Linked DNA regions of Homo sapiens: all the other regions are linked to region 6. Evidence: promoter capture Hi-C in 16 types of primary human blood cells and fetal thymus (Javierre and others, 2016). All regions are on one chromosome and are shown on one strand. The core of a region is centred on a gene start or on the middle of the fragment in contact, and the rest is flanking DNA. Distances in the headings are between cores, read along the strand shown.

Region 1 (3,062 bases), core at 45-2,544, 2.9 Mb after region 6:
CACCTTCTTGCAGAATTTTACTTATGTGCTTATATTGCCTTTTCAAAAAATAAATTCTGTCCCCCTTTCTAGAACACACGTACAGAACCTGTCCCTTGTCCGGTCCACGTGAAGTTAGGAAAACTAAGTCCTAGTTTTATCCTGCCAGCAATAGTGAAGCAGTATGATGTCATAATGAGTCTTAAATATCCTTTGCTTCAGTTTCTGAGGCTGTAAAATGGGGTTAATAATATCTATTCTACCCTCCTTAGAGGCACTTTAGAAGTTCATTGAGATAAAACAACAATAGCAATGATAATAGTTTAAATATATTGAGTGCTTAACATGTACTGGGCACAGTGCTATTGTCTCAATCCGAAAACAATCCACTAAGGTAGCAACTAATGTGAGTCTCATCTTAAGAGACAAGGAAAATAAGGCAGAGAAAAGCAACTTGCTCAAGGTCATGCAACTATATATCATAAACTAAAAGTAAAATTCAAAGCCCCCCCCTTCCCCACCAACTGACTGAATGGACCATCTCTTGGCCAAGGGGATCCCAGAGTAAACTTGAAGACTGAGTTCTCAGCCATGACAGGATAGGAGACTCAGATACACATCATTATACCCCCTCCCTCATTAACCATCATTAGCCTTTCTTCCCTAAGGGCTTAACAGAAAGTAGCCCTTTCAGACTTCATGACCAAGGACCCAAAAGCAAATGCAACAAAAACAAAAATAAATAGATAGGACTTAATTAATCTAAAGAGCTTCTGCAAAGCAAAAGAAATAATCAGCAGAGCTAACAGACAACCCACAGAGTGCGAGAAAATCTTCGCAATCTATACATCTTACAAAGGACTAATAGCCAGAATCTACAAAGAACTCTGATATGGTTTGGCTGTATACCCACCCAAATCTCAACTTGAATTGTATCTCCCAGAATTCCCCCGCGTTGTGGGAGCGACCCAGGGAAAGGTAATTGAATCATGGGAGCCAGTCTTTCCCATGCTATTCTCATGATAGTGAATAAGTCTCATGAGATCTGATGGGTTTATCAGGGGTTTCCACTTTTGCTTCTTCCTCATTTTTCTCTTGCTGCCACCATGTAAGAAGTGCCTTTCACCTCCTGCCATGATTCTGATGCCTCCCCAGCCATGTGGAACTTTAAGATCAATTAAACCTCTTTCCTCCCAGTCTCAGGTATGTCTTTATCAGCAGCGTGAAAACAGACTGATACAAACTCAAACAAATTAACAAGAAAAAAACAAACAATCCCATTAAAAAGTGGGCTAAGGACATGAATAGACAATTCTCAAAAAAAGATATACAAATGGCCAAGAAGCATATGGAAAAATGCTCAACATCACTAATGATCAGGGCAATGTAAATCAAAACCACAGTGAGATACCACCTCACTCTTGCAAGAATGGCCATAATCAAAAAATCAGAAAAATAATAGATGTTAGTGTGGATGCGGTGAAAAGGGAACATTTTTACACTGTTGGTGGGAATGTAAACTATGTACAACCACTATGGAAAATAGTGTGGAGATTCCTTAAAGAACCAAAAGTAGATCTACCTTCTGATCCAGCAATCTCACTACTGGGTATCTACCCAGAGGAAAAGAAGTCATTATATGAAAAAGATACTCGCACACACATGTTTATAGCAGCACAATTTGCAATTGCAAAAATATGGAACCAGCCCAAATGCCCATCAACAAACAAGAAATGGACAAAGAAAATATGGTGTGTGTGTGTATATATATATATACACACACACTCAAACAGCCACACACACACACACCATGGAATACAACTCAGCCATAAAAGGGAATGAAATAATGGCACTTGCAGCAACCTGGATGAAGTGAAGTAACTCAGGAATGGAAAACCAAACATTGTCGTTCCCACTCATATATGGGAGCTAAGCTATGAGAACAACAAAAGGCATAAGAATGATACATTGGACTTTGGGGACTCGGGGAAAGGGTGGGGTGGCGAGGGATAAAAGACTACACATTGGGTACAGGGTACACTGCTTGGTGATGGGTGCACCAAAATCTGACAAATCACCACTAAAGAACTCATTCACGTAACCAAACACCACCTGTTCCCCAAAAACCTATTGAAAATAAAAAAATAAATTTAAAAATATTTTAAAAAGAAAACAGCCCTTTCAAAAGACTCCACCACTGGTATCAGTCTACCGCCTAATGCTGCCTCTCCTTTTTTGCCCGATAAGAGACCACCGACCACAGGGTGGTTCTGGCCAATCTACAAAGAATGCACAGTAAGGGTGTTCCTGTCTACTTCACCTTTTGATGTCAAAGGGCCAAAAACTCCACCCTTAGATCATGCTAACACCGTCATTTTTTGTACATGGGACACAAGCAGGGGGATGAAGCTCAATTGCACGTGTGCATATTTCTCCTTCATAAATATTCATGATTCCTCTGATAGCTTATTGAATATGTATATTCGACCACTCTGCTCAGCATAAATTTCTATTCCATTTGCCCCACCCTCAGAGTATCTGTTTTGGGCTTCTGACCAGAGGCTATGCTTCCCACCCTGTCAGAATGGCAACCCTGCAGGCTGCAATCCTTTATGAGAAATAAAGCTCTCCTTTCCAAATTTATGAACCTCCTCATTCTTCAGTTGATGATATCCAGCCTTCTGTTTCTACCGCTCACACTTTTACCCACCGAATGCAATATATAGGTTTGAAATTAGTATTCATTACTCTAGATGCAGCTTCCTGTCCTGAGATGTTTGGGTTGATCATCAGATTTCCTCCACCTGTTTCCCCATATTGGAATTTCTACCCTACTCAAGAGAGTCTAATGAGGAGCTAGAATCTAGAGATAGGAATATAAGCAATTTCAAAATAGGATCCTGGTCCCAGGAGTTAGGATTTGTTGCATGGCAGAGACCAGGATCCTGGAATCACCTTTAACTCAAGAAAGTGCTCAGAAACAAGCCCCAGCTGAGGTTTATAAACACAATTAGCTTGTTACCACCCCCACCCCCACTGTTACCATAGCAATGAGAGAGCTCTTGGATGCCAGTCCTCAATTG
Region 2 (2,884 bases), core at 235-2,734, 2.8 Mb after region 6:
CTTGAAGCTTTCCAGGGTTCTCTACTCTGTCTCAGTTCTTGATTCTCCCCCTCACTTTGCTCAAGAGTGTTTTTTTCATTTTAGTAATAATAATAGACTTTTATTGATTCCATACTAAGGGCTTTGCATGATTATCTCGTCTATCCTCAAAACAACCCAATGAGATGGGCACTATTATTGTCTCCATTTTATACAAAACGAAACTGGGGCATACAGAGGTCCTGTAACTTGCCCAAGGTCACTGAGCCGGGAAGTGTTGAAGCAGGATTCAAAGCCAGGTTTGTCCAGAGCCTCAGTTTTTTGTTTTGTTTTGTTTTGTTTTTTGTTTTTGTTTTGAGACAGAGTCTTGCTCTGTCGCCCAAGCTGGAGTGCAGTGGCACGATCTCTGCTCACTGCAAGCTCCGCCTCCCGGGTTCACGCCATTCTCCTGCCTCAGCCTCCCGAGTAGCTGGGACTACAGGTGCCGGCCACCACGCCCGGCTAATTTTTTGTATTTTTAGTAGAGACGAGGTTTCACCGTGTTAGCCAGGATGGTCTCGATTTCCTGACCTCATGATCCGCCTGCCTCAGCCTCCCAAAATGCTGGAATTACAGGCGTGAGCCACTGTGCCCGGTCCCAGAGCCTCAGTTTTTAAGGCTCAGTACTTCATCTCCCTGGCCCTTTAACTGTTACCTTGCGTTCACACAGAGATGCTTACTTGAAAGCACACATTTATTGTTGCCAGGATTCTTTCCACATAGAGATAGAGGGTGGCAGGGATAATGAAAGTGGGCTCAGCCTGCTCCCTGGAGGGAGACATCTTGGCTGCTCTTTGCGACCTTGCTTCTCCCTTATACTTTTAGGGCAGAAAGATTTCTGAGTATGGATAGAACTCGCTTCTGGCTAACTCGGTACCATAGGATTTCCCTAACGTATTGAACAAACATGTTGATGAGAGTTGCAAGAAAAATAAATGTTGCAAGGCCAAGTAATATGAGAAGACAATAGATTACAAGCTTTCAAATATGTGTTCTGCAGAATTTCTCTGATACTTTAATAAGCCCCAAGGAGAAGGACAGGTGCTATTATGTAGTATTTCTAAATATTTAAGCACAAGAAACTTTTATCCCAAGAAACACATCTCAGAACTACTGTAGGAGGGGTGGGCTACCACTAAGGGATTTGCTGCAAGTATATTACAGGTGTTGAAGGTGTATCATAATCATCACACGGGAAGTTTTTAACAATATATATGCATCCTTCTGTATCACCACCAGTAAATTATGACTCACTAGGACTGAGTAGGGACTTGAGTGTGCATATTTTTAAAAATTTTCTCCCAGACAATCTCGATATAAACCTACCACCACCTCCTTGAAAACCTGTACAACCAAGGAGAGGCGCCATCTCCAGTGCTTCCAGAAACACTTATCCTAATAATGGGGAGAAAACTACCATCTAGGTACTTTTTACTATATACTAGTTCTTTTACATGCATTGTCTATTTTAAGCCTAAGATCACCATGGGAGGTGGGCATTACTATCCCTATTTTACACATGAAACCTCTGAGGCACTGAAAGAGCAAATCTCACTAATCATCTCAGAGATTTTGAACACCTACAAATATGGTTTGTTTGGAAATTTAATATCTTACATAATAAGTATTAATGGCTCTTGATAGTTTATTCTCCCTCTAAGTCCCTACTGTCTTTGAGACCTTCACCTTGCCAAAAGGGTTTTTACTAACCACAGAGATTACTAGGAACATCTAACCCCACATATATACCCACACTCATTTTTACCATCTTCTGGATGATGAGAATTACTATATTCGGGTAATTCAAAGTCAGTAAGACATACTTTGTCCCAGCTCACATAGATCTGCATTTCTCACAGTCTGCTAAGCACTTGTCCCAAGAGACAGTTCTTGAAAAACTCATGGTCCGTGGTCAAGTCAGATTACAGTTTACAAGTCAAATTAAGAAGCTTTTGTCCTGTGAACCCCTCTTGCAGGTTCCAATGTTCATTAACATATTAACGTCTCTGAGAAAGCCTGGAGTCAATAGGCCTGTTAAACTTTCTTTAGCCCTGAGCTCTCCAAATTTATTTAACCTAAGAATTATTTTTCAGCACAAATATTATTAACATTCCTATGGACCTTTTCAGAAAATATTAGCCTGAATTGTGGTACAGACATGGTCACAACAGGTGAAGGGTAACAAAGAAGTTGACAATCCTCATGGCTTAAGCAGTTCATTCTTCCTTTTCCTGTTTAGGTTCAAATGAAATTATAAACATTAAAGAACTTCTTAAAAGGGTCTTTCTCCCATGACATTGCAGATTATCCTCAAGGCTGCCAAAGAGTTAGTTTCAAATCCTTTCCTCAGAATTCTTCTTGGACTAAATCTACTTTTTTTTTCATTGGAACTTTTATCCCAATGGGCCATCTTTGAATTTATAAAATTATTGACCTATTTTTGAGAGATTCACTCTCACTTCCCATTGTTAAAAAAAGAGGGGAAAGGGAAGGAATTAGGATTTGCTAAAAACCTGTCCAGCTGGCAAGAGGACTTTATTAGAGAATTCAAACGTACAGTTTTCTCTTTGGTGACATTCTGATACCTGAAACCTCTTCTGTAAAAGAGTTTTAACCTAGGAATTTAACACCTGGAAAGGAGTATATAGCATTCATTTTGATAAATGTAACAGTTATCTAAGCCAAAGAATCAGAAATGAATGCTTCCAGTTAGTGTTTCAGATCAAACATGTCCCTGGCTATCTATTTTCCAAATCACTGAAGCCTAAGTCCCACTGAAGCATGGGTCAGATCATTCCCCAGGGCCAAGTGGGAACTTGCTATGCCAAGTATGATCTGCGGACTAGCCACTTCAGTAAGCATCACT
Region 3 (2,700 bases), core at 187-2,686, 2.8 Mb after region 6:
ACTCTCCTTTGAGGTTCCGGCCACAGGTGAGTTTCTGGAAAATGTCATCAGAATCAGAAAATGTTAGCGCCAAAGAAAACCTAAAGAATAGGTACCTTTTCCTTTGTTTTAAGATGTGTCCCAATATATTTTTCTGTACTATCCAATTTGTTCCTCACAAAAATCTTGTGGAATAAGTATAGAAAGAATAGTGTTCCTGATTTCACAGTGAGGAAGCTGGAGATCAGTTGAAGGTGAAGGAACAGCTCCCCACTAGGACTGAACCAGAGCTAGTCTTCTGACCTGCAGGGTCATAGCCCAGCAAGCCACACTTTAGCTATCCCTGACAGCCCCAATTAGGCCAAAAGCACGTCCCACCCACTTCAATGCTCCCATGGCACGTATTCCAGTGTTAGGAGCATGTTATTTATGTGATTATTTGTTTAGTGTGTCACCCTAGAACATAGGGATTCTAACCTCAGATACTCAATCTTAAACAAAATCCTTATGACTCTAATGTCAGAAATCCTATCTTTAGGAACAACAGGGAAGCAAATGGTCAGGATCTAGTGACCTTTAGTTACAAGGAAGTAGGTCAAAGTGTGGGTTAAGACTACTTTCAGTGTCTACCCTGCATGGATGGGGGAGAAATGAACAGGCCAACATGCTGCACGTTTCTCCTAAACATAGCTCCTCCTGTGTCTGTTTTCAGATCTTCGCCTGCTGCTGGAAATGGCCCTCTCAGTGGACTCATCGTGGCATCGGTGGCAGTGGAGAGTCAGAGATGGCTTCCCCCATTGTCCATCGGAAACCACACCGCTGCTCTCTCCAGAGAAAGGGAGACAGAGCTACAACTTGACACAGCAGCGGGTCGTGTTCCCCAACAACAGCATATTCCATCAAGATTGGGAAGAGGTCTCCAGGAGATACCCTGGCAACAGAACCTGCACAACCAAATACACCCTCTTCACCTTCCTGCCCCGGAATCTCTTTGAGCAATTTCATAGGTAGAGATCCACTTGTCTGAACAATACTCTTTTTAGAGAAAGAGTCTCATTCTGTTCCCCAGGCTGGAGTATAGTCGTGCAATCTCGGCTCACTGCAACCTTCACCTCCTGGGTTCAAGGGAATCTCCCACCTCAGCCTCCCAAATAGCTGGGACCACAGGCGTGCACCACCATGCCCGGCAAATTTTTGTACTTTTATGTAGATATGGGGTTTTGCCACGTTGCCCAAGCTGGTCTCTAACTCCTGGGCTCCAGTGATCCGCCTGCCTCAACCTCCCAAAGAGATGGGATTACAGGAGTGAGCCACCACACCCGGCCACCAATACATATTTTAAACAAGTATTTACCACTTAGATAAACTCAGAGATGCTACCCTCTGGGGGCCACCTTTCCTTTAATATCCAAATGCATTTGTCTTAAGAAGTTTTTTCATTCATTCTTTCATTCAACAAATATTTGTCAGGTTCTATGCTGTCTCAGGCCATAAGCTGGGAGCTAGAGATACATAAAAAAAATGGAGAGGCAGAGAGATACTGTCCTTATTGAATATATTGTCTAGTAAAAGAGACAGACATTAGTTTTTTAATTATATAAATTGATATAAAGTTGTAACTACAATAGATACTTCTAAGGAGAGGTATATGGTGCTATTATAGTGAATAATAAGGAAATCTTGGCCTAGTTAAGAAAGTCAGGGAATTGAAGTACAACATGAAAGAGAGACTGCATTACCTGAGTGAAAAGGGATGGACAGAAGTCAGCAGAATGTTCCTGCAGACAGACCTGTACATGCAAAGGCACTGTGGCAAGAGAGAGCAAGATGCACGTGGAAAACTTGAAAACATCAGCAACTCTTTTGAGATAATGTATGAGATCATTTTAAATTAAAAGTTAAAATATGTGCTTATATATCACCCTCAATATTGTAATTATTATTATAAGTGACCATTTACTGAGCAACTGCTATGCTCCAGAGCCCTCTGCTGTATATCATGCAAATATTATAAATCATGTAATATTTATGGGACCCCTTTAAAGTCCATAATACTATCCCCATTTTGTGCAAGAGGAAATAAGCTCAAAAAAATCACACAACGAGTAAATAACAGGAACAGAATTTAAATCTAGATGGTTTTCCATTCCTGAGAATAATCATCTCCAGTCTCATCCATAAGCATGACAAAACAAACTTTGGGGACTTAGGGGGAAAGGGTGAGAAGGGGAGAGGAATAAAAGACTACAAATTGGGTGCAGAGTATACTGCTCGGGTGATGGATGCACCAAAATCTCACAAATCACCACTAAAGAACTTACTCATGTAACCAAACACCACCTGTTCCCCAATAATCTATGGAAATAATAAATACATCTAGATGGGTTTGGCTTCAAATCCATTACCATAATGTTTGAGGTGATACTGAAAGAGAAGGTTTAATTGATCAAGGCCAAACAGTAGGGAAGAAATGGGGGAGAAAGTACATTTTTCTTCTCCATAGTGTTTATTCACACTTCGCTTGCCCCTCCAGATGGGCTAACCTCTATTTCCTGTTCCTGGTGATTTTGAACTGGATGCCCTCCATGGAAGTCTTCCACAGAGAAATCACCATGTTACCATTGGCCATTGTCCTGTTCGTCATCATGATCAAGGATGGCATGGAGGACTTCAAGAGACACCGCTTTGATAAAGCAATAAACTGCTCCAACATTCGAATTT
Region 4 (2,747 bases), core at 213-2,712, 3.0 Mb after region 6:
GCTCTGCCTTCACAGTACACGTAGAATCTAACTGTTTACCCTCACCCAAGCCACCATCAGCTCCCACCTAGGAGATCTGCAACAGTGAGGTCTCCTGATTCCACTCCTGCCTCTGCAGTCCACCCTCCAAATAGCAGTCAGAGGGATCTTATTAAAAGATAACTCAGAAGTAGGAGTTGAACAATGAGAACACATGGACACAGGGAGGGGAACATCACATACTGGGGCCTGTCAGAGGGTGGGGGGAAGGGGAGGGAGAGCATTAGGACAAATACCTCATGCATGTGGGGCTTAAAACCTAGACGACAGATTACTGGGTGCAGCAAACCACCATGGCACATGCATACCTATGTAACAAACCTGCACCATCTGTACGTGTATCCCAGAACTTAAAGTATTTAAAAAAAAAAAAAAGAGGCCAGGCACAGTGGCTCACGCCTGTAATCCCAGCACTCTGGGAAACCCAGTCAGGCAGATCATCTGAAGTCAGGAGTTCAAGACCAGCCTGGCCAACATGGTGAAACCCTGTCTCTACAAAAATACAAAAATTAGCTGGGCATGATGGAGGGTGCCTATAATCCCAGCTACTCGGGAGGCTGAGGCAGGAAGAATTGCTTGATCCTGGGAGGCGGAGGTTGCAGTGAGCCGAGATCATGCCATTGCACTCCAGCCTGGGAGACAGAGCAAGACTCTGTCTCAAAAAAAAAAAAGGAGAGATAAATCAAATCATGTCACTCCCCTGCATAAAGCTCTCCAGCAACTTTACATCACACAGAGAACAAAACCCAAACCCCTCAGCATGGCCTACAAGGCCCATGTCATCTGGCCCCTGCCTCTACCTCCAATCGCATTTTCTACCATCCTTCCCTCATCCATCCACTCCTGCCCACCTGGCCTCCTTGCTGTTCTTAATTGCACCAAGCTGTTACCTTTTCCTGGAATGCTCTTTCCCAAAATATTTCTACTGTTCACCTGTCACTTCTTCCAGACTCTTCTCAAACCTCACCTCATCAGAGTCCATCCCTCACCCACTCTACCTAAAGGAAACACAGACATGCCCCACCCATCCCCCAAACGTTCCAGCCCCTTGCCTGCTTTTCTGCCTCATACAATTTATTATTAGTTTACAGTTACTTATTTGTTTACTGTCTTTCTGCCTGGTAAGAGTGAAAGCTTCATGGGAGTAGGCCCTTTAACCAGAAGAATGCCTGGCACAGAGTAGGTCAGTTTCTCAATCTTTTTTTCATTATCATCCTTCTAAGGAACCTTTTCAGACTTTTTTTTTTCTAATCCCCCCACTATGAAATGTTAACACTACAGATATATTATATGTCTATATATACTGTATGTATATTTGTGCTTTACACATAGAGTTTTTTTTCACCTCCTAAGGGCCAATTTTCGTGCTCTTTGAGGGGAGGCATATCTTCCCCATGGAATAGGTGCTTGATAAAAATGTGTTGAATGGATAAAACTCCTGAGGAGAGCAGCAAGCTCTGAAAGATGGACATTGTTCAAGGTATAAAGTTCAGCTGGGGAAATTCCAAGCCTCCCCCCACTCAACCCTCCCATCTTTGTAGCATGAGTACATCCTGTCATGCTGTGTCTGGTGACTATCCGGTATTTTTCTAATGCAGATTTTCAGCTTTAAAACAAAACAAAACCCTACTCTTGTTTTGCATCCTGGCTCCCACTGCTATTTTGGATCCTTGAATTCACTTTTTCTCCACCTTCCTCCCCAGGCAAGCTTTAAAACCCAGATAAGGCCCGCTCCATTCGTACACAGTTTATTCTTTCCTTCATCCTACAACCTGCACTGAGTTCCTATGTGAACCAGATGAAAAGATGATGATGATTCAATCCCTGCCCTCTGGAAGCTCATGAGGATGTGAGGGTAGACAAACAGGATGCTAAGTTCAACACACCAAGGGCTCCAGGAGGAGCAACAAAGTGCTTCGAAAGGACAACTGCACTGACCCAGTGGAACCTCTCCTTGCTCATCCATTCACCCATCACTGACTTACAGAGCACCTGCTGCATGTGTCGGGCCTGTGCTAGATCCTGGGGTTGCAGCACAGACAAGACCAGCATGGTCCATGGAGATCACAAAACAGGAGAGACTGAAATCTCACTGATAATCACACAGATAAGTGAGCCCAAATGTGATAAATGCGACCAGTGGAAAAGCTCAAGATTCTATGAAGCACCTGGTAGTTGGAAAGAAATGACATTTAAGGAGAAACCCTGAAGAATAAGTAGAGCATGGTCTGGCAAAGACCAGGTAAAAGGGAGTTCCAGGCACAGGGAACAGAATGTCCAAATGGTCACAAATAGGATGTGACCAGGCACACTTGTGAGGACGGAGAGAGACTCCTCTACTGAGGTCAATAACGAGACTAGGGATGGCATGAGGAGAGGAAGGTCCAGAAAGGCAAGAGCCGATTCATGTTGGCCTTGCTGAGAAATATGGAGTTGACCTTAACTAAAGACAGAGGAAACACAGAAGGAATGTGATCCAGGCTGTATTTTTTAGATATTTTGGTTGGGTGTGGAAAACAGCTGGGAGGAGGGTAAAAAATCATCCCACACATCTGTCATCCAATCACGCAATTTAACATGTGATCCTGCAGGGTCTTGCACCCATAGGTGCAAGTCCTGTGAGACTGTGAAATTCTCAAAGGTAGATATCACATTTTCCGCCTCTTTTTACCCCGTCCCACAACAGCAGTGCATGGTACATGGTAGAC
Region 5 (2,700 bases), core at 31-2,530, 2.7 Mb after region 6:
CTAGCCTGCTTGGTTATTGCTTATTTCAAAATGCAAGCACACAATTTAAAATCCGGTCACACCTCCTTTTGCTGAGCTACAAGCCTGCTATTACAAGTGTTTGTAAAGTGCCTGTTAGCAGTTAATAAGTAAAGGTGTTGGCTTATATTCTGAGGGTATCAAGGTGCTCAGACAGCCTAATTTGCCTATTATAGGATGAAATTTGATCCCTCTCTTGATGTTCAGATTTGGGGAGCCATATTCCAAAACTCTTGGTACTTTCCTCCATTGCGTAAAGACACAATTCTAAGAACATTTGTGAAATGTAAAAGACAGAGTCCAAGACCCTGTAAGCATGGCCTACACGTTGCCTCTGCGGTAATGGCTGCGGTGGAAGTGCTGGGTCTTGGAATTACTCCACTATTCCTATTGACAAGCAAATTCTGGAGCACAGCCAGAGTGGAAATAAAGGATGAGTTACTATATTGAAACAGGAAATAGAATTTAAGAAAATAGGTACAAAATTCAGATTTTTCTCTCTGGAGGAAGATGTTTCCGAAAAGAAAATAATTAGCCTTTGGTGAGGTTGGAATGTAAGGAATGAAAAGTTTGCATGAGGAAGGTGAAAAGGCATGCTTGGAGGGAGCACAGAAAAGAGCAGACCTATGGATATTCCTTGGGGTATAGACATATTGACAGTTCCTATACAGCCTATTGCCATAGGTGTCTATAAAACATTAAGCTCTGATATGTGGAAAGACCAGATTTAGAAAGGCCTCAGCTATTCACTCATGCCTTCCTGAGTTCAGTAAAACACATGGAGAAATAACAATCTTAAAAAAAATTGTTCATTTATTTTCTTTTTGTGCATTCAGTGTATGATAATTATAGACACATCATTTATGAATGACAAAACTATTCTCTGATTATCTGGGTTAAAGCCTTGGAATAAGTTATCGTGTTTACCTGTGTTTCCTTCATGATACAAACTAAGGACTAAATTGTTATTCAAAATGTCAATCGTCATTCCAGAAGAGGCTTTGAAAAAATTATAATCTAGATAGATCCACCAGACAGATACCAGCCAGGACTTTTCTTATGAAGCATACAAAATATTTAATGGTGTCTGTGCCTAGAATTGGATTCAAGTCAGATAATAAGGCAAATTCAGAGAAAATGATTAGAATCTGAAAGGGCCCAGAAAGACAAATCTAACCTCTTTTCCAGATTCTTAAATCATAATTTTTTATGACTCAAAAAAAGCTCTAATGATCATATAATATTTTTTTGTGGATTGTGTTTCTGAGTTTATTATTATTTTGAAGTTACTGAGTCTGAGACCCTAAAAAGCCCAAATCCAGCTCTGCTAATCATCCTACTGCATTGTGGGTTTCCCAAGAAAATCATGTACCATGGCAGACAGTGAAAAAGGATGGACAGTGTTACATTATTGATAGCTGTGAAAATGCTTCAAAGCTCTGATAAAAAGGTTGGGTTGATTCACAAGGTTTACTGAGACCTAAATTATTCTTCTTACCTGCCCTGTCTCTCTTTCTCTACTCTCCATCTAAATCTTGACTCCCATGTTCCAAAACATGACCCTGCAGGACAGGAGGAATAACCAGGCCCCAAAAGGGACCCAAGTCTACTCACCCATCTGTGGGCATGGAGTCAGAAAAGAGAGAGGTTAGCAGTCTCCCCAAGTGGCCTGGCTGCCTACATCTGTTTATCACAGAGACTGGAAGACAGAGTACGGGAAAGAGGCTGGAGCTTTTCAGGATACAATGATCTTGACCCCTAGTTCCCTCCATGTCAATGTTTTGATCAGTCAGATAAGCATCTTCTCTTCTCCTGTAAAGGAACCAAGAGGACAGTGAACAGAGATGAAAGCCTTCTGATATAGGGATGTATTTCTGAAGTGCATGTTTCGGCCTCTATAATAATAATATCTGCCATGTATCAAGTATGTAGTATGTGCTACATGCTGTTCAGAGGGCTGTATGTGTGTTACCTCATTTCATCTTCACAGGAACCTGTAGTGTTGGCATTGTTATATACTCAAGTTACAGATTAAAAAAAACAACACAAGCTCAGAAAGGTCAAGTTTCACCTCCTTCAGCTATCTACCCAGTGTTTAAATACCCGCTGTGATGGATAGTCACATTGGCTACTGTTGGCTTATAAAAATAGAAAATTCACTTTCACCACTACTCCCACCCTAGATAGCTTAATTCTACTATTGGTAATTCTGATCATGATTAATTTCCCCCTGCTATTAAAAATGTTGACTCCCTATAGCCTATTACACTGACTACTATTTGTATCTTCTATAATGGTGGTTCTCAACCAGGGTGATTTTACCCCTAGTAGACATTTGACAATGTCTGGAGACATTTTTGGTTGCCACACTTGGGAGTCGGGGTGCTACTGGCATCTCATGGGTAGAGGCCAGAATGCTGCTAACCACCCTACAATGCACAGGACAGTTCCCTGCAACAAAGCCTTATCCAGCCTAAAATGCGAATAGTTCTAAGATTGGGAAATCCTGTTCTGCAGCCACACAAGACAAATTGGATTACATTCTGCATTAGCCCTTAGATGTCTCAAGAAAACAATAATGATACATCTAACACCTCCACCATATATATCCCCCCATCCATACCACACTGACTCTCCAGTCTTCCTATGCTTATCTGTTTAAAATTCCATTTTAAAAAAAGG
Region 6 (2,700 bases), core at 90-2,589:
CTGCCTCAGCCTCCCGAGGAGCTGGGATTACAGGCATGCGCCACCGCGCCCAGCTAATTTTTATATTTTTAGTAGAGACGGGGTTTCACCATGTTGGCCAGGATGGTCTCGGTCTCCTGGCCTTGTGATCTGCCCGCCTCGGCCTTCCAAAGTGCCGGGATTACAGGCGTGAGCCACCGCGCCCGGTCGGAACCATGCTTTTTAGAAAAATAAAATGCAAATCTTCAAGAAATACTTGTTCAAGTTATTCACTGTCAATAGATAACCACGAATAAACACCGTAAGACAGGATACCGAAAGTGAAAAGCAGATGGTAGTTAAGTATTCTGCCACATATTAACAAAATGAACTGTTCAAGTTACTTAATTGTACTTAGTTCCACATTGATAAAGTAGGGATAAGGTTTATGACCTACCTCACAGATTTGTGAGTTAAAATGAAATCACGTAAAGAGCTTAGCACATACAGTAGACGCTTAAAAAACACTGAACAATAATAATGAGCTTGAGCTTCTTTCTAGATTTATAAAATGAGGGTAACAATATCTGTCGCTGAATGTGAAGACTGAACAAGATGATTCACCACTTAAAGAGTATAGCACAGTGCTTGGCACACAATACTCAATATTACTTAACTTTTATTGTTGTTAGGAAAGGAAACTTAAAAGGTGACATTAGGAGCACGTATTGGGGCGGGGGGGTGCGGTGGGTTGTTGCTAACCTAGTCTGAAAGATGAACCTGGGAATTCCATTGATTTAAGTGTGCATAACACAACCATGTCCCGGGCACAAGCTAAGCCCTGGATACATGGAAGGTCCCTCCCACACCAACTAAAGACAGGAAGGCAGGAGGTCTTCAGAGCTAGTCATGTGAGGAACCTCTAACTGCAGGGGTTCCATTCTTCCTCCCCAGGCTAGTCCCTGGGACTGGGTCGGCAGACACGAAAGGCACCTCAGGAGGCCGGATCCGGCTCCGCCCCTCCAGCCTCGGACTAGCCTGGGCTTGTGCTCACAACAGCGGTAGAGTTTAGTGTGGAAAAGGGCGCGGGCCAGACCTACTCCTCGCCCCGCGCCCCCAACCCAGCTCCCCACCCGCACCTGGCGGTCAACTCCCGCGCAGTCCCACTCACCTTGACAGAGACTGCAGCTCCTCAGCGGTAACCACCCTCCCCGGGCCTGCTCACCTCACCCCACGATATCAGATCCGAGAGGCCTACGAGGAGAGGGGACTCGTAGGCAAGAGGAGAGAGGCCCGGGGAGGGGGACTGTCCTGGGTGGAGGCCTCGGCAGCGCCGCCGAGACAACTCGGCCCTGATCAGGGTCAGCTCGGAGCCGAAGGGGCCGCGCCTGCCCTAACGAGGAATATATTGGAGGGCGGGGCTTTCTCGCGAGAAGGGGGCATTTTCGCCGCTGATTGGTGTAATTCTTTTGATGGATGGCCTCCGCGATCCGTAAACGGCTGGGCCGTGGAGTGAGAAGTCCGGCCAATCGGCTCACACTTCCCGTTATCTGGCCTCAAATTCCCCGGCCCCCTTCCACGCCCCTACCTCTAAGCGTCTCTCATTGGAGAATTTAACAAAGTGTCTTCATTCAGTAGGGGGCCAAACTAAATACTCGGTGCAGCAACCCTCGCCTGGGTCAGGTCAATCGGCTGCCAGCCGGATTGGCCGGCGTATCATTCCAGAATGTACTGTTTGTTCTGTGGGGTTTAGGAGTTCTACAGTGGTTCTGCCCCATCTTTCTAAAAATACAGTGAGTAGTTAAAAAAAAAAAAGTCAACCTTTGATTTTTAATTACAGATAAAGAGGTGGTGGAATTTATATGGTTTGGTGGTTTATCAACTTCCAGAGTGCTCTCTTCGTGAACTTTGGAAGTCAGTTGATTCTTGCCTTAGTTTGCTTTTTATACAATTTATCAAATAATGGAGTTGGACTGTGTAATTTCTTGACCCTCTACCAATTTTCTGAATTTGCTTTTAAAGCAAATTTAAAGAGAAAAGTTGGTACAATTTTTCAGTTGCTTAAAATGAAAGGTATGTGGCAGACTGTTAACAGGAATAATTGTGGTGAGTGTGAATCTCAGTCTACAGACCCGAGTGTAAAGCAGTATTACTCTTTGTATTTACCATAATGAATTTAATCTCTGTGAGCCTCTCCTATGCCAGATTAGTGGGAAAATAATTAGCCTGAACTCTTCTTAGACTCTCCTCACTCTCACTCTCCCAGATCATCACAAGTGAGAAAAGTCCATTTGTAAAAGGGCCTGAAAAAGGGTGCACAAGGAGTCATTTCTAAACTCTTATGAATTACACAGTAGTTGGATGTCTCTGTTCTCATGGCCCCAGTTCGGTCTCTCTTACTTTGAAAAAGTGAAAATCTGAAAGATTTGCCGTCACTCTGCTATTTGCCCTGCCGTGTACTTACCCAAGGCAATGCCACAGAACAAAACTCTGGAAAGGGGGAAAAGGGGTGGGGAGGAAGGGGAAGGAAAAACAGGAGAAAACATCAATACCTCACAATAATACCTTAGCCACATAATCAGGTCAGTTTAAGAAACTGGGGCTCAAATGGGGAAGAGGCCTTTGTTCCTTTTGAAAATAAAAGCTTACCTAGTGAATATAAATTGGCAATTTATAACCTTTAACAAGTGATTTTATTTAAAAATACTTTTTGCTGTAATGTGTGAGTTTATAAATGTAGTT
Region 7 (2,912 bases), core at 295-2,794, 3.0 Mb after region 6:
GCGTCTGATACTACGCCCGGCTAATTTTGTATTTTCAGTAGAAACGGGGTCTCTCCCTATTGGTCAGGCTGGTCTCGAACTGCTGACTTCGATCCACCTGCCTCGGCCTTCCAAAGTGCTGCTCATGAGCCACCATGCCCAGCACCTCTGTTTCTTTATCCTCAGAATAAGGGTATTCAAAGAGCCCCCTCTTCCCACCCCCATAGAGCTATTATGAAGAATAAAAGAGATAAAGCAGGTGAAATGCTCATCCCTGGTTCTTAGTAAATGGGAACAAGTATGACAAGTGTGAGCCAACGTTATGACAGGTATTGTCCTCTATTTGAACTCTACTTGCTTTCTCAAAATCAGGAACCTCTTCGTTTTTGATAACTCACCATTCCTCCCTATCTAAACATGCTATCTGAACACAGGAACAAATTAGATTCGGAGAATTAAAATGCTTAGAAGAGGAGTCTGAGCTAAGCCTTGAAAGATAAGTAAAACTTCAATAGGCAGGGGGAGCAGGGGGGCGGAAAGAAGGGAAAACAGGACTTCCTTGCTAAGGAAGCAACATGAATTAAGAGAATGCAGCAGTAAATATGTCAAAGGAATGGCCAAGAACCCGGAATGGGTACCTCCATCATGGGAGACCAGTGGGGTAATCTTGGTAAAGTTTTAAATCCTGTGATGAGGAGCTTTTAGAACAAAGTAGATGCTGAAGGTTGAGGAACAATGGAATTTCTTGACCCAACAAGGAAGTGAGGAGGGCAACAAAAGTGAGAATGGAAATGAGAAAGAACCTAAGTTACCCTAAGATGTGGACTATCTAGGGTTTGGTGACCAGTTGGATGTTTAGCTAGAGAAGGTAAGGAATAAGTTAAAGACCAACTCCAGACTTCCAGTTAATGCAATAAATCTGAGTTTTCCCTGACAGGTGGAGGTGGAAATGGGGGTACAAGTGGGTTTGTGTCATGTTACCAAACACAGTTTACTCTTTTATTTTTAATTTGCAACCTGTCAGAAGCCCTGAGCCTGCTTCTCTTTCATTCATGCAATAAATATTTATTGAGCACCTATTGTGTATCAACTGCTGTGTTATAAGCCAGAAATACAGCAGTGAAGAAAACACAGTCCTTGATCTCACAGACCATAAAATCGACTTGGGAGTCCAGGCAGGTGAATGGACAATCACAGTCATGCTCAGACAGGAGAATTCATGGGATACTGGGATTTCAAGTAGGAGCACCTACCCCAAGTTTGGGTTTCCTTGGAAACATAGGAAGTTATTTCAAAGCTGAGCACAGAAACGGAAGTAGGATTTAAGAAGGCAAAGACCGGAAAGAATGTTTTTTCAAGCAGAGAAAACAGCAAGTATGATGGCCCTTGAGAGGTGGAGGAGCTACAGAGGTAGAATTTGGCTGGATGGAGGATGGGAGATGAGGAGTGGGCTGAAGTGGGACCAGATCACCACATAAGGTGTTTGAATTTCATGCCAAGGAGTCACTCTCCGGATATTTCTCAGTGCCAATGTGAGGTAGCAGCCACCCTTGCCCTTACAGCTCCAGTGTGCACACTTAGAAGGATGGCCTCTAGGCACATGTGCCTGGAAGCCTCCCCCGAAAGCCTGTGCAGAAGCACGAGGCAAGCCAATGAAGCAGAGCCAAGTTTTGATTTGAAAACGATGACTTTGCTTTTGTATCAGATTTCTAAATCGAGGTTTTTTATTTCAGCCCCACCAATGTCATGTGCACTGAGTTCCTTCTTTCACCCCCTCTTAAAAAAAGAAAAAAAAAGAAACCCTTGTGCAAATATCCATATGAAAGTAGATATACGTGTATGACAAAGTGGGTCATTCTTAAGTACAGAACCTTATCTGTAGACTTTTCCCATCCTTCCATTTGCCAATCATAATAGCTCCCAAGTTTCAGTTCTTAAAACCCTTGTCTCACCCTTAGGACACAGTAAGAGCCAGTTTAATTTTGATGTTGGTTCTGATGCTTGTAAATGTTATGTAACTTGTCCAAGGTCATCTAGCAATTTCTAGGTTTATAAGGGCAAAATAGCTTGGTTTGCTGTTTCACTACTTACTTATCCCACTCTCTTCCTCTCCATTTATTTTCTCTTTCCTTTCCTACTCTCAGTTGCAAATAATAAAGACTTGTGGGCTTGCCTTAAGCAATGGAGATGGGGGAGAATGTGCTATGGAAGTAATAAGGCGTATATATAGGGGAACCCAAGACCCTCAGTGGGGCATCAGTAGGAACAGAAACATCCCAGAGGTCAGTCTTGGAGATGCTGGCCCTCAATCCAAGGAGGCCCCAAGGAAAAGTAGCAGGAGGTCCTTGCCCTTGAGTGTCTGCCTTGAGTCTCTGTGATTCAGCTGTTTTCAGGGAGTTTCAGTCTCCCTCCTCTCTAGATAGGGCCCTGGGCTATCTAAAGGACATTATCAGGGTAACTGGTGATATCAGACTGAAGATTAGACAATAGTATTGTTAAATTTCCTGAATTTGATCACCATATTTTGATTGTGTAAGAGAATAGCCTTAGCCTTATCCTCAGGAAATATATACTAGAGGATTTAGGAATAAAAGGGCTTGATATGTGCAAACTACTTTCAGATAGTTTACAAAAATGTATATGGTGTGTGTGTGTGTGTGTGTGTGTGTGTGTGTGTGTAATGAGACAGAGAGAAGCAAATGTGGCAAAATGTTTACAGTTGGTGAATCTGGTTTAAAAGTATTCAGAAGTTCTTATTCTTGCATCTCTCTCTCTCTCTCTCTCTCTCTCTCCCCCCACCCCTTCGCCCGCCCCCACATATATATACAAGAGAGTGTCTCACTATGTTGCCCAGGCTTGGGTGCAGTAGCCTGATCCTAGCTCACTGCAGCTTCAAATTCCTGGGCAAGCAATCCTCCCACCTCACATTCCCA

What was found. Contacts are between HindIII fragments. The CHiCAGO score rates a contact against its expected background, and 5 or more counts as called.
Region 1: a fragment that was not itself captured here is called in contact with the fragment with the promoter of CCNG1 in region 6 in 15 of 17 cell types (non-activated CD4 T cells, total CD4 T cells, total CD8 T cells and 12 more); the score reaches 30.9 in non-activated CD4 T cells.
Region 2: a contact is called between a fragment that was not itself captured here and the fragment with the promoter of CCNG1 in region 6, in 1 of 17 cell types (M0 macrophages). The highest score is 6.2, in M0 macrophages.
Region 3: a contact is called between a fragment that was not itself captured here and the fragment with the promoter of CCNG1 in region 6, in 1 of 17 cell types (M1 macrophages). The highest score is 9.1, in M1 macrophages.
Region 4: a fragment that was not itself captured here is called in contact with the fragment with the promoter of CCNG1 in region 6 in 16 of 17 cell types (activated CD4 T cells, naive CD8 T cells, non-activated CD4 T cells and 13 more); the score reaches 32.3 in activated CD4 T cells.
Region 5: a fragment that was not itself captured here is called in contact with the fragment with the promoter of CCNG1 in region 6 in 1 of 17 cell types (M0 macrophages); the score reaches 6.1 in M0 macrophages.
Region 7: a contact is called between a fragment that was not itself captured here and the fragment with the promoter of CCNG1 in region 6, in 9 of 17 cell types (activated CD4 T cells, M0 macrophages, naive CD8 T cells and 6 more). The highest score is 21.8, in activated CD4 T cells.

Annotation. Positions count from the first base shown.
Region 1 is chr5:160,500,994-160,504,055 of GRCh38, reverse strand. No RefSeq gene overlaps it. Among named protein-coding and RNA genes, the nearest start is that of MIR146A, 17 kb to the right of the region's middle. The HindIII fragment of the contact is 5,828 bases long and covers 1-3,062 here.
Region 2 is chr5:160,664,669-160,667,552 of GRCh38, reverse strand. All of the region lies in intron 7 of ATP10B (ATPase phospholipid transporting 10B (putative)), which reads left to right. Among named protein-coding and RNA genes, the nearest start is that of MIR146A, 180 kb to the right of the region's middle. The HindIII fragment of the contact is 971 bases long and covers 999-1,969 here.
Region 3 is chr5:160,686,086-160,688,785 of GRCh38, reverse strand. It overlaps ATP10B (ATPase phospholipid transporting 10B (putative)), which reads left to right. Exons shown (of 26, transcript NM_025153.3): 4 at 1-26; 5 at 692-986; 6 at 2,513-2,700. The coding sequence starts at 712. Among named protein-coding and RNA genes, the nearest start is that of ATP10B, 160 kb to the left of the region's middle. The HindIII fragment of the contact is 3,336 bases long and covers 1-2,700 here.
Region 4 is chr5:160,476,606-160,479,352 of GRCh38, reverse strand. All of the region lies in intron 1 of MIR3142HG (MIR3142 host gene), which reads right to left. Among named protein-coding and RNA genes, the nearest start is that of MIR3142, 3.5 kb to the right of the region's middle. RefSeq lists enhancers at 1,437-1,731, 1,316-1,864. The HindIII fragment of the contact is 574 bases long and covers 1,176-1,749 here.
Region 5 is chr5:160,757,626-160,760,325 of GRCh38, reverse strand. The region is part of intron 2 of ATP10B (ATPase phospholipid transporting 10B (putative)); the gene reads left to right. Among named protein-coding and RNA genes, the nearest start is that of ATP10B, 93 kb to the left of the region's middle. The HindIII fragment of the contact is 5,998 bases long and covers 1-2,700 here.
Region 6 is chr5:163,436,234-163,438,933 of GRCh38, reverse strand. CCNG1 (cyclin G1) reads right to left here and starts at 1,339. Exons shown (of 7, transcript NM_004060.4): 1 at 1,130-1,339. It also overlaps a transcript of LOC105377700 not described here. RefSeq lists enhancers at 775-974, 666-1,243, 1,685-1,734 and a silencer at 1,415-1,494. The HindIII fragment of the contact is 4,161 bases long and covers 1-2,604 here.
Region 7 is chr5:160,451,756-160,454,667 of GRCh38, reverse strand. No RefSeq gene overlaps it. Among named protein-coding and RNA genes, the nearest start is that of MIR3142HG, 15 kb to the left of the region's middle. The HindIII fragment of the contact is 7,393 bases long and covers 1-2,912 here.